Regions from separate parts of the Homo sapiens genome. Here region 1 is linked to region 2. Evidence: promoter capture Hi-C in human tissues and cell types (Jung and others, 2019). All regions are on one chromosome and are shown on one strand. Each heading gives the region's core, a stretch centred on a gene start or on the middle of the fragment in contact. The rest is flanking DNA. Distances are from core to core; before and after follow the strand shown.

Evidence for each region. Contacts are between HindIII fragments. The study calls those that stand out against the background at their distance.
Region 1: a contact is called between a fragment that was not itself captured here and the fragment with the promoter of OR5B21 in region 2, in 1 of the 25 tissues and cell types used here (H1 embryonic stem cells).

What each region holds. Positions count from the first base shown.
Region 1 is chr11:57,932,939-57,939,137 of GRCh38, forward strand. No RefSeq gene overlaps it. Among named protein-coding and RNA genes, the nearest start is that of OR9Q1, 88 kb to the right of the region's middle. The HindIII fragment of the contact is 6,478 bases long and covers 1-4,691 here.
Region 2 is chr11:58,504,801-58,510,671 of GRCh38, forward strand. OR5B21 (olfactory receptor family 5 subfamily B member 21) reads right to left here and starts at 3,305. Exons shown (of 1, transcript NM_001005218.3): 1 at 2,007-3,305. The coding sequence starts at 3,305. The coding sequence ends at 2,376. LOC105369313 (a long non-coding RNA gene) reads right to left here. Exons shown (of 5, transcript XR_007062673.1): 3 at 669-742. The HindIII fragment of the contact is 9,451 bases long and covers 579-5,871 here.

The DNA of each region.
Region 1 (6,199 bases), core at 203-2,702, 570 kb before region 2:
AAGTAAAATGTCACCTGAAATCCCACCACCACAGATAATGGGAGTCGATTATTGTTACTTTAGACATAAATATCTCAGTGTGTTCATGACTGTAATTTTCCATACACAGATTCATACTATACAAGCTATTCTGCCATTGACCTTCTCACTCAGCAAGATGTCATGAACATTTTCCCATATCAATAAATAGTAGCCTACATCATCATATTTAATGGATGCATATTATTTTATTGTTGTATGTGTATCATTATTTACTTAACTGGTCCCCATCGATTGACAATAAGGTATTTCCAACTTTTCACTGTTATGGATAGCTCTCTGATAGACACCTCCTGAGAGGAGGTATGGGGCCTGGAGTGCCAAGTCCAGTGAGAACATGATGTAGACAGACTGCTTTTCCCAGGTAGGTAGGAAGAGACTGTTCTCTCCTTGGGATCCTGGCACTTTGGGTGTTCACAGCCCTAGGGAAAATCACCAGGCAAAGAAAAGGGCCTTGTTAGGCAAATAACTTGTTTGTGTAAAAGAGATGCAGTCCCTACACTACTGATCTGGGAGGAAGTCTCAACAGAAGAGGGACTGGATTGCCCATGTTTCCTGCAGGTAAGAGGTATTCACTTGGGAAAGACCCGCGGAATCTCACCTGGAGAGGTAAAGCAGTGCTGTGTCCTCCGACCTTCCTCACTGCATTCCAACCTGTACAAGTTGTCTGGTTCCCAAAAAAATTGGCCCCTTCATTGTGTCAATTGTCTTCTCATGAACATGCAACAACCTTTCAGCCTTTTTGTGGTAGAGTTTATGATGATGCCTAAGAGTCAATGTTCCTCCCTGCAGCTCTTGGATAAGAAGGGTTATACAGTCTCTTTCTTCATTTAAATTAAGCTTGGCCACATGATTGGGTTTGGCTCAGGGAGTATGAATGGAAGTAATTTGTGCCACTTCTGAGTATTGAAGCCTTAGGAGCCAACCTCTGGTTCCCCACTTCCCTTCTTTCCCTTCTGCTTTGACACCAGTGAAGTCCAAGGCATAGGTATTCTCTTACATCCTTTTGAGTCTTGGAGTGAAAAGCAGAAAGTTCATCACTGACTTATGGATGGACATTAACATGAGCAAGAAATAAACTTTTTTGCTACTGCAAGGCAATGAGATTTGGGTGTTGTTTTTTAATACAGCGGCCTCCGTTGCCTGAAGTATTCTTCAAAGACAAACTTCTTTTTTAAATTATGACACCAGCTCTATCGTGACTATCAGATTGTCTATGCCTGTCAGTTAGAGTCCTTCCTGTCTCCCCTGTGGAACAGCTTCCTTGCACTTACTGAGTCTGCATCTAGCTAATTGACCTATGGCAGTCATTTTGTTTTTAAATATGAGAAGGTTCTAGTTGTTAGTGGCAGGTCCTATATGAACCCATTCTTGCAAACCCGATAGATAGTTGTTATGTTGCCATGAAAGTCTTGGATCACAATCTTCCCAGCTTACAAGTTCTTCCAAACAAACTTAATCGTTAGTAAGCAAGCATAGGCAGTCAACACACCTGTCTGTCATTAGGGGGTAGTTATTTTCTTTTCCCTTGGGTATACTGGCCAGCAAATCTTTCATGAAAAGCTCACTTGGAAGTGAAATGTTGATGTTTTACCATCAACATTTTACTGGCAGGATCCTCTAGGAAATAGAAAGATGCAGAACCAAAGGGCAGTGCATTTGTGGTAGACGGGAAAGACAATATGCTATGAGCTTTTAGAGCTTGCTTGTGTATGGCATTGTGATCATTCTATTCTGAGTAGTGTGGGTCCATGATCTTAGATGACAGGCTCTTGAAGGAAAAAGGAAAACCCATCTAAAGGCTACATCAGCAGCCAAATGGATGTCCTTTATTGTCTTTGCAATTTTTTTTTTGTTTGTTTGAGACAGTCTCGCTCTGTCACCCAGGCTGGAGTGCAGTGGCATGATCTCGGCTCACTGCAACCTCTGCCTCCTGGGTTCAAGTGATTTTCCTGTCTCAGCCTCCTGAGTAGCTGGGACTACAGGTGCATGCCACCACACCCAGCTGATTTTTGTATTTTTAGTAGAGATGGGGTTTCACTATATTGGTCGGGCTGGTCTCGAACTCCTGACCTCAGGTGATCCACCTGCCTCAGTCTCCCAAAATGCTGGGATTACAGGCATGAGCCTCCGTGCCTGGCATCTTTGCATCTTTTTGATAAGGGCTAGATTTACATTGGTGGGGTGAAGTCAAATAACCCAGAAAGCTGGAGTTGGAATAACTCTTGAGGAACATCTAGCTCAAAATGTCTGGGAGTGGGAAAAGAGGCCCAGAGAGGGGAAGGTGCTTGTCAAAAGTTATACACAGCCAGTGAAATCTGGGGCTGCAGACCTGGTCTTGACTAAATTTAAAAAAATCCTAAAATTTCTTGACATTACCATAGTAGTTTATTACTGTTCTCAGTTCTACTGGATGTTTTGTATCATTTTTGGGGGATACTGACCGTCTTAGTCCATTTTGCATTGTTAAACAGAATATCAACCTTTGGACATTTATAAAGGAAAGAAATTTATTTTTCACATTTCTGGAGGTTGGGAAGTCCAAGGTCCAGGGGACCACATCAAGTGAGGACCCTCTTGCTGAGTCATGACATGTGGTGAGAGAGAGCAGGAGGGAGAGCAAGAGATCAAACTCATGGCCTCTAACCCTTTCATAACTGGTATTAATTCATTCATGAGGGTGGAACATAAACACCTCCTGTTAGTCCCCTCCTCCCGACATTGTTGCATTGCGGATTCAATTTCCAACACATGCTTTTTGGGGGACACATTCAGACCATAGCACTGATTATTCCTGAACCATTCGGGGCATGGATAGGTTCTCTATCTATGGCAGTGAACTCTTCTCCAGCTGAAATGATTTCCCTGTTGCTCACTCTGTGGGACAGAGTTGTAGAAATATTCAGGATTATAACCAGGCAGAGTGTCACTAGTGAGAGGAACAGAAGTTTGTTTCCATAGGAACAGTATAGTGGTTTTTAGAAATGATAAAATGAACTTGAGAATTGAGGTCATCTATGTCCACATACCTTAACTATTGGGACTGATAACTGAGACTTACTGTGGCAATATGACTTAACTAATTGTTACAGGAAATTAAGGCCTGGGAAGATATGGCTGTAAACCAATAAATCACTGTTGGCTTTTATCTGAACAATTTATACGAACAAATAGTTTACTCCTCTGGGCCAACAGCTCTCCTATCAGGACAATAGATTACTCATCTGGACAAACAATTTGCTCAACAAACAATGGTTTTTTATTAATATTTGCTTCCAGGCACTTCCCTTCCTGTGCCTGTCAATCCTAAACTATAATGTCACAAACTTTGTCCAATCCTGTTACCTACCTTGAAAGAGTGACCTTGTATCACTTGAGTCAAGACCCCCAAGTCCTATAAATATAGGACTTTTGAGAAAATACTGGGATTTCATCCAGGTGATATTTTTTCTTTCTACAGTAGGTCTAATCAATGTAGCTTTTGCTGGTCAATAGGTTTTCTGGTGGTGTTTTGAAGAGCTACCAGCTGTCAATCTACTCTTTCCCCAGGGTTACTTGAGGGCATTTTACATCCCATTTTTTTTTTTCCTGAGGGCATTTTGTTTCCTTTTTGGGCCATCTTTATTTCTCTAATGGTGATGATTAGAGTTGCCTTTATGAATGTAGTTTAGCTCATCAGTATATAGGGTCACTGATACTCCTAAGAGGGTTCATATAGTATGTCAATGTCAGTCTGAAAAGGCATCCTACATAGATCAGCTTTTCTAACTTCCTCATTTTGCACAAGGAAAAATTGAGGTTCTGGGACAAATCTCTTTCTGATTTTGGGGACAATGTTCAAGTTGGATACTTCAAGCAACATCATTTCTTCTCCGAGCCCCTATTTTTTTTTTTTTTTTTTTTGAAACAGAGTCTTGCTCTGTTACCCAAGTTGGAGGGCAGTGGTCTAAACTCGGCTCACTGCAGACTCCATCTCCCCAGCCTCAAGTGATCCTCCCACTACTTCTTCTTCTTTTTTTTGAGACAGGGTCTCATACTGTCGCCCTGGGTGGAGTACAATGGCGACACTGCAACCTCCACCTCCTGGGTTCAAGCGATTCTCCCACCTCAGCCTCCCAAGTAGCTGGAACTACAGGGAACAGACACCACACCCAGCTAATTTTTGTATTGTTTGGTAGAGGCCAGGTTTCACCATGTTGGCCAGGCTGGTCTTGAACTCCTGACCTCAAGTGATCCACCTGCCTTGGCCTCCCAAAGTGCTGCTATTACAGGCATGAGCCACCGTGCCCGGCATGATCCTACCACTTCTACCTCCAGAATAGCTGGCACCACAATTGTGCGCCAGTGTGCCTGGCTAATTTTTTTTTTTGTATTGTTTTGTAGAGATAGGGTTTTGCCATGTAGCCCAGGCTGGTCTCGAATTCTTCGCCTCAAGCTATCCATTAGTCTCTGCCTCCAAAGTACTGAAACTACAGGCAGGAGCCACAGCTCCCAGCCCTAGTCCCGAATTTTTAATTCAATCAATAAATCACTGATTGCCCACTCTTGAAACCTTGTTTAAAGAAGTGGCCTCCTTTCTCGTTGTGACTCACAAAGAAAACTCCTTGCTGGCATTAAGATAGGACTCAGGAAGGAGCTGAGAAGGAGGTAAGTGGTTTAGGGAATTCAGGCTCTTCGGTGGCCAGAGGGGTAGGGCCAAGGCAGTAGCACTGGGGGCCCTCCTTTCATTTTCTAATTCTTTTTGTTTCTTCTAGCCCATTTCTTTTTTTCCTGTTCCAAGTTGTTCTTCAGGTGTTGTGTAGAAAGTGAAAATTACTGGTGGGAGTCAGGACTCTCTGGGATTAATAGAAAGCTGGGCCCCAGTGGAAAATATGAGAGCAGCACTTTGGGTTTTTTTGAAGACAGTAGAAATGTAGACTTGTTATGGAATTTTCTGCAAAACCTCAAGAGGTTTTAGGCACTATAGGAAAGTACGGACTTTGAAATCAGCTGGACCTGGCTACCAGTTATGAACTGTATATCACAGTCCAGTTAATTTATTGGACTCTCAGTTTCCTTATATGTGAAATAGATGTAACCTAGTCATAGAATTATTGTGAGAGTTAAATGAAATGGTATGTACGATGTGCTTCACAGAATTCCTGGCATATAACACATGCTCATTAAATATTAGCTATTCATTATCATTATTGAGAAAGCAAATTTTTCAGGAAGGAATAGTGTTTGATTGAGGCCCTGAGCCTTATAGAATAAAAACAACTGCTATCCTTTTTATCATCTGTTGCCTGGAAGCCTAAAATTCAAAAAGGAAGAAGTGAAATATGTGCATATATATATGTATACACACACACACACACACACACACATATATATATATACACACACACACATTCCTTACCCTCTGATTAAGTATAGTACTGCGCACAGTGCTCGTCTCAGGGGTAGATACAATGAAGGATGAGGTTTGATTCCTGCCACAGGGAGTCTGCAGTATAGCCGGGGCAGTGAGATACACAGCCAGATAACAGTAGTGAGCAGAGTTTTGTAGGAATGTAACTCTGCAGGAATAATTCAGCACTGTCCCAGTGACAAATGGGCTTCTGTCTGTGTGTTGTTCCTGGGAGTGGAGAGCTCATAAAAAAACAGGGACAGGTGAAGAAGCAGGTATTGGAATAATAGCAGGTTTCATTTTAGCTTCAGAACTGCTGCCTTTGGCCACTGCCTCTACTGATGCACAGGAGAGGTCAGTGTAGTCACCAGGATGTCAGAGGAATCTTCAAAAGATGCTTAACTCCAAGTAAACTTTGTGCAAAAGCAGGAGCCTTAAGGGATCTGGAAATACCTCTTTATCCTCAGTCTGGCTCCTCATGACCTCCAGTGGCCTCCAGGGCAAGGAATCCTATATATGTGTTGCTCCTCAAAGCACTATCTCTTGTCCTGACTTCATGTCTGACTCTGAGTTCACTCGTGATACTGCTTTTTTTGTCTTGACTTGGATTTTTAAGTCTTACCCCTCCTCCCCTGATATTTGGCTCTTGGCTTATCCTTGGTTTAGAGTCGCCACTCTGCTCTCTGAAATCTGATCAATTGTCCTGGTGCTGCCCTGCTACAGGACTAGAGTTTAACCCATCACTTGAGACTATGTGGAACAGAAGAACCA
Region 2 (5,871 bases), core at 2,055-4,554:
AGTAAGACTAAATGACTTTCTTGAGGTCACACAATTGATAAGAACAGTTAGAATTTTCATCCAGCTTTTGATAGTACTCTTTTATACCTATTTACAGTCAGATAGAACACTTGTTTGAGGTGATTTCAACATAAAATATAAATATGTAGACATTGAGCCCTTAAATCTCAGGAGGCCCACATTTTCCTGCCTAAACTGAGGTATAGAGGCATAACAAAATATGTCCATAAGAATGATAAAATGGACTTTGGGGTCTCGATGGGGGAAGGTTGGGAGGGAGGTGAGGAATAAAAGACTATATATTGGGCACACTGCTCGGGTGATGGGCACATTAAAATCTCAGAAACCACCACTAAAGGACTTATCCATGTAACCAAAAACAACCTGTACCCCCAAAACTAATGAAATAAAAATTAAAACCATAAAAGAAATAAACATGCCCAGATACACATCTTAATATATACTGTAATGGTTATGATATATAGACTCTAGACTTTAATTTTTTTATAGAAATCTAAATGGCCTAGTGGTGAGGAAAGTTCCTGCTTGGGCTGGGCATAGAAAGAAGTTGGGAAAGAAAAAGAGGAGAAGGATAAAATGAAGTAAAGAAGGAGGAGCAGGATGAGGAGGGAAAAAAGTCAATTATATCAAGTAGGGAAAATGTGTACCTGAGATTGGAATGCACCCAGTGCTTGGATAGCTGCTTCCCAGGCTCTTCTCCAAATGCAGATACTCTTGAGCTCTGTAGATTTCAATGAGAAAGATTCCTATATGCAGTGGATCCTGGCCTGTAAAGGCTGTTCTTCCTGTGTGTTGCTGAATAGGCCTCATTGCTAAAGAAGAGGGGAGGGAGGGGGCTGAATGGGGGAGGTATAGGTTGTCTAGGCCTTGGGCTCAGAAGCTCCTGATCTTTTCAGGTGATGGCAACCATGTGCCAGAGAAAGCTATTCTCATGTTTCTCATGTTCCATAACTCCTTCTTTGCAATTTTTCCCAGAAGACTTATGATTTATCCTCCTCAGACAGAGGCTGCCCTGTACATAATGGAGCTTGATAATCTGAAAACTAAATTGACATTTTAAGCCAACTGAGTTAGCCAACCAAGATTTCTGGTTTTCATCTATAAGGTCAAAATTAATTTGTTGGGTTTTTTGGGGAGATTTTGAAATCATGATCTATTGTGGTGACTTAGATTAACTGTAGTTATAAACACCATCAAGGAGTTGATACGTGAGAAGTGAAATTAATCACCACTCCCTTCCCACACACACACATTTGCTCACACCATCTAGCACATGAAACAAGACCTGAAGGTGTACTAGCACTGTGCGTCACCGTGCTGTTCCTAAGAAGTAAATTTCCAGGCAGGCTTTTTTATTCTTGTAGCATCTAATTACAGAACACCGGAATGCAATGGAGACCCAGAGGTGAGCTGAATTATTGAAAAAGTAAAAGCAAAGACAGTCCAGAAAGCTATTATATATCTTCATAATAGATTCACCAAACTTAAGGGTGCTAAGAAATGCAAGCATTTAATTCAGAAAACAAATATATTTTTTCATAGCTCTAGGGAAAACTGCTTTTTTTCTCTAAACCTTCTGGAAGTTTTGGTAATTATGTTAGACAGAGACAAGAAACATAAAAGATAGTGTAGGCTCTCCGAAGGAAGTTGTATTTAGTCAGGTTAAAGTTGAAGTAATTCATCTATTAAAGCATTCCCATATTTCTGTATATAACAAGGTGTAATGTTTCCCCAATGATTTAGCAAAAGGGAATGGAAATTACAAAGGCACATGACTAGTGAGTAGGATAGGAATGTGGGTAGAGAAGGGAGAGTAAGGGGTTGGAAAGATTTAATCGTCAGCTACCTGACTCGATCTAGTGCCTTGTCCTTTAAATTACAACTTTCTCTCAAATATCATTTAAAATATTGAAACATCCTTTGTCTACCTCAGAAAGTCCAACTTTCAAACTCGCAGAACAAAAGAATAAAAAAGATACTGTGTGTTCAGTTGATAAAAATGAAGGTGAAATCTTTACACCAAGTTTAATAGTGAATGAAAAATTCTTACAATTAAAAACAGGATGAGGAAAATTTGGTACATTCATTTGTATGCTTCAATCTTCTGCTTTAAACCACGTCAAGAAACTAAAGCAAGAAAAGCTTAACTGTCCCATGTTGTTGTTCACTAAATATAAGATTATCTTTCTAAGTAAGACTTTCAACGTGCTGCTTTTTACATCTTCTAATAGCAGAAGTAACCGCTGTTCTTGGGGAAGAAAGAACTGAAACCAGTCAAACGTTAAAAGTCATGATGGCATTTAGGTGTGAGAGAAAGTTTATCCCTTAATTGCTTGCCTACTTCCCATTCACATTTAATATTGGGGGTAAAGTTTGTTGAGTATTTTCCAGAGAGCACTTTTCACTTCTTTGTTCCTAAGGCTGTATATCAAGGGATTCAGCATGGGAATCACCACTGTGTAAAACACAGAGGCTATTTTGTCTGTGTCCACGGACTGGCTGGAGTTGGGCTGTAAGTACATGAAGATGATTGTGCCATAGAAGATGGACAAAGCAGTGAGATGGGAAGCACAGGTGGAGAAGACTTTCTTCTGCCCTTCAGCAGAATGCATCCTCTGAATGGTGATGCATATGAAGAAGTAAGAAATAAGGATGACCAGGAGGGTGAAAAAGACGTTGAAGCCTGCCACAAAGACCACCAACTTGCTGATGCGTGTGTCAGAGCATGAGAGAGCCAGGAGTGGGGGAATGTCACAGAAGAAATGATTAATCTCATTAGAACCACAGAAGGAGAGTCTGAAGGTGCCTGCTGCATGGATAGAGGCATTGAGGAAGCCAGAGACATAGGAACCAGTAGCAAGGAGGGCACACACACCTGCTGTCATGGTGGTGGTGTAATGAAGAGGCCTACATACCGCTGCATGGCGATCATAGGCCATGGAGGCCAGGAGGTAGCACTCAACAGTGGCAAACCCCACAAAGAAGAAGAACTGAGCTGCACATCCATCGTAGGAGATGGCCTTGTCCCCTGACCGCAATGCAGCCACCGTTTTGGGGGCTACAGCTGATGAGTAACCCAAGTCTACAAGGGAGAGGTTACTGAGGAAAAAGTACATTGGAGTGTGGAGATGGGAGTCTGAGTGGATGATCACCATCATTCCCCCATTCCCAAGCAGGGTGATGAGGTAGATGAATAAAAATGCCAGGAGGAGGGGTATCTGAAGATTGGGGTCATCTGTTAATCCCAAGAGGATAAACTCTGTCACTTCTGTGCTATTCTCCATTGTGGCCAGCTTGAATTAGCCTGGTGATTAAAGAAGAGGCGTCAACAAAATTCCAATGAAAGTATGAGAAGGGAGGATGGAATGATAAAAAAGGAGAAAACTAATGTATAGAGAGAATGTACTGTGTGTAACACTCATCCTAGAACCCTCTGTTATATTATAGCTTTTAATTCATATGAGATAGGTGCTATTATGCCCATCTTACAGATAAGGAAGTTAAGGCTCAGGGAGCTGAATATTGAGCAAGATAGCCTATCTAGGGGTCAGAATCAAAGTTCACCCCTTTATATTTCTGAATCTAAAGTTCATACATTCATCTTGAATTCTTTAACACATTTACATCATATAAATACAAATTATGATGTGGATATAAGATTGTATGTATTTAATTATTAAAAATAAAAACATCCATCACTTATTGTCTTCCACATTCTACTTCCAATAATATAGCCTCACTAAAGATTTTCTAAATTTATTTTTCCTTAAAACAACACAAGTTTATTCTCTCAAAATTCTGGAGGCCAGAAGCCTCAAATCAGTTTCACTGGGCCAAAATCAAGGTGTTGGCAGGACAAGGTGGTGCCCTCAAGGTCTGTTTGATACTAAATCCAAAGATCTTAACCACAACTTTTGAAGCCTTTATAAATTAATCCCTCAACAGTAGTTCAACTGAAAGGGAGTATGGTATATGTAAATATGAGTATGTATTTATATATATTTAATATAAAACTATAAATTTGATATATACAAATGGCTTTGTGTATCTGTGTATATGCATATGTCTTTTTTCACCCCTTATCAGAAGTCTTTGCTGTAGACCCTAATTCCAGTTAAGTCCTCCTTTCTCTCCCTCCTCAAAGCACTTGAGTCTTGGCTGATTATTGCACAATTAGCTGGGCAACCACTCACTCTTCACCTAGCTCTAAGCCCCTTGGGACAGTAACTATCTTCATCCCCTCTGGTCCACTCTCCTTACCATGGCCCCTCACACATGTATGTAAATATTTGGTGAATCAAACAGAACATCAATAGGAAAGTATGGAAATATTTTTCATGCTCTTTAATCCCACAACAAACATCCTATCATCCTCTTGTCTACCAGGTTTGTGCTTTGGGCCAAAATATTAGCTTAGACTTGTCATATGAAAAATATTCAGGAGTAACAGTGAGTTTGCAGATGGTCAGGCCTGGAGACAGGTTTCTGTCCTCATTTTAGAGCATTCTTTCTCTCCTATTTTTGTTCCTCAACCTGAGGTGTTCACAGGCTTTCCCCACTCCTAGTAGCAGAGTGAGTGGGAGCAGACTCAGAAGAAGTGAGGGAGAAAATGTGAGAAGAGAGGAGGAAAAAGGAGAAAACAGGAATTAAAGGAGAAAAATGCTTCAGCTCTGCTGGACTTTAGCTTACCTTGAAGAGTAACAGCAGCAATTTGATTGGTGACACAAAAAGAAGGGGATAGTGTAGCTTGTCCTTTTTGGATGACCATCACACACACACGATGTGGCTAGTTTCATAAGAACTGGCTCAGTCAGCTTGGTACATTACTATCCAGTAATGTACTAATTGACTTTCTGACCAGCATCACTTTCTATTATATTTATCCAGCCTTTTTTAACTTGTTTTTCTTTTGACTTTTGACATGTGTGTATACTCTCAAATTTAGCAAACACAATATCCTGTAATCTATGACAGGCAGTGTTCTGATCTTACATATTTGGAAACAGAAGGATGTGGTGCCCCTCAAGGTCACATAACTGCTTAACTGTAAAATCTGTACAATTCCAGAGCCTGGTTTTTCAGCCTCAGCACTACTGACATTATGAGCTGGACAGTTCTTTGGTGCAGGGTGTGGTGGGGGAGAGGGAGTGCTGTCCTGTGCATTGTAAGATATTCAGCAGTTTCCCTGGCCTCTCTCTAATCACTAGATTCCAGTAACACCACCACCTCCCATTTGTAACAGTCAAAAATGTCTCCAGACGTGGCCAAATGTCCCCTGAAGGGTAACATTCCCCTGATTGAGAACCACTGTTCTAGAGCTTTTAAAAAACAGTGGTTCTAAAGTTTATAAAACTCTTTTTGCATTCACTTCTTAATTTAATTATTGCATGACTAGATAGAGAGAGAGAGAGATAGCAGATATAGACATGAAGAAACCGAGGCTCAGTGAGGTGAAGTGACTGGTTTAAAGTCTAGAACTCTGGCCAAATATTGCTGCTTATTGGTAGAGGGATCCCAGGAAGGGATAACTGCTTGCTAAGTACGTGGTCCTTTGACCAAAGAGATACCAGTCCTCCCATATTGTAAACCAACCTTTTCCTAGACACAAGGTAGGATGAAAACCTGGAAAAATTCCAAGAATAAAATGCAGCTGACTTAGGGTGGATTCTGAATTATTTTCCAAAATACCTTCTGAAATGCTTATTAGATCAATCTCCTTGGTTAATATTGACCACAGGAGTCTATTCACTTAAGCTGTACGTTCAGTTTTTAAAAGCCATTACACCCACCCCCCCGCCCCCGCCATATTGAACTGTCCCTGACTGCCATGTTCCTCTACCGGCAATTAAT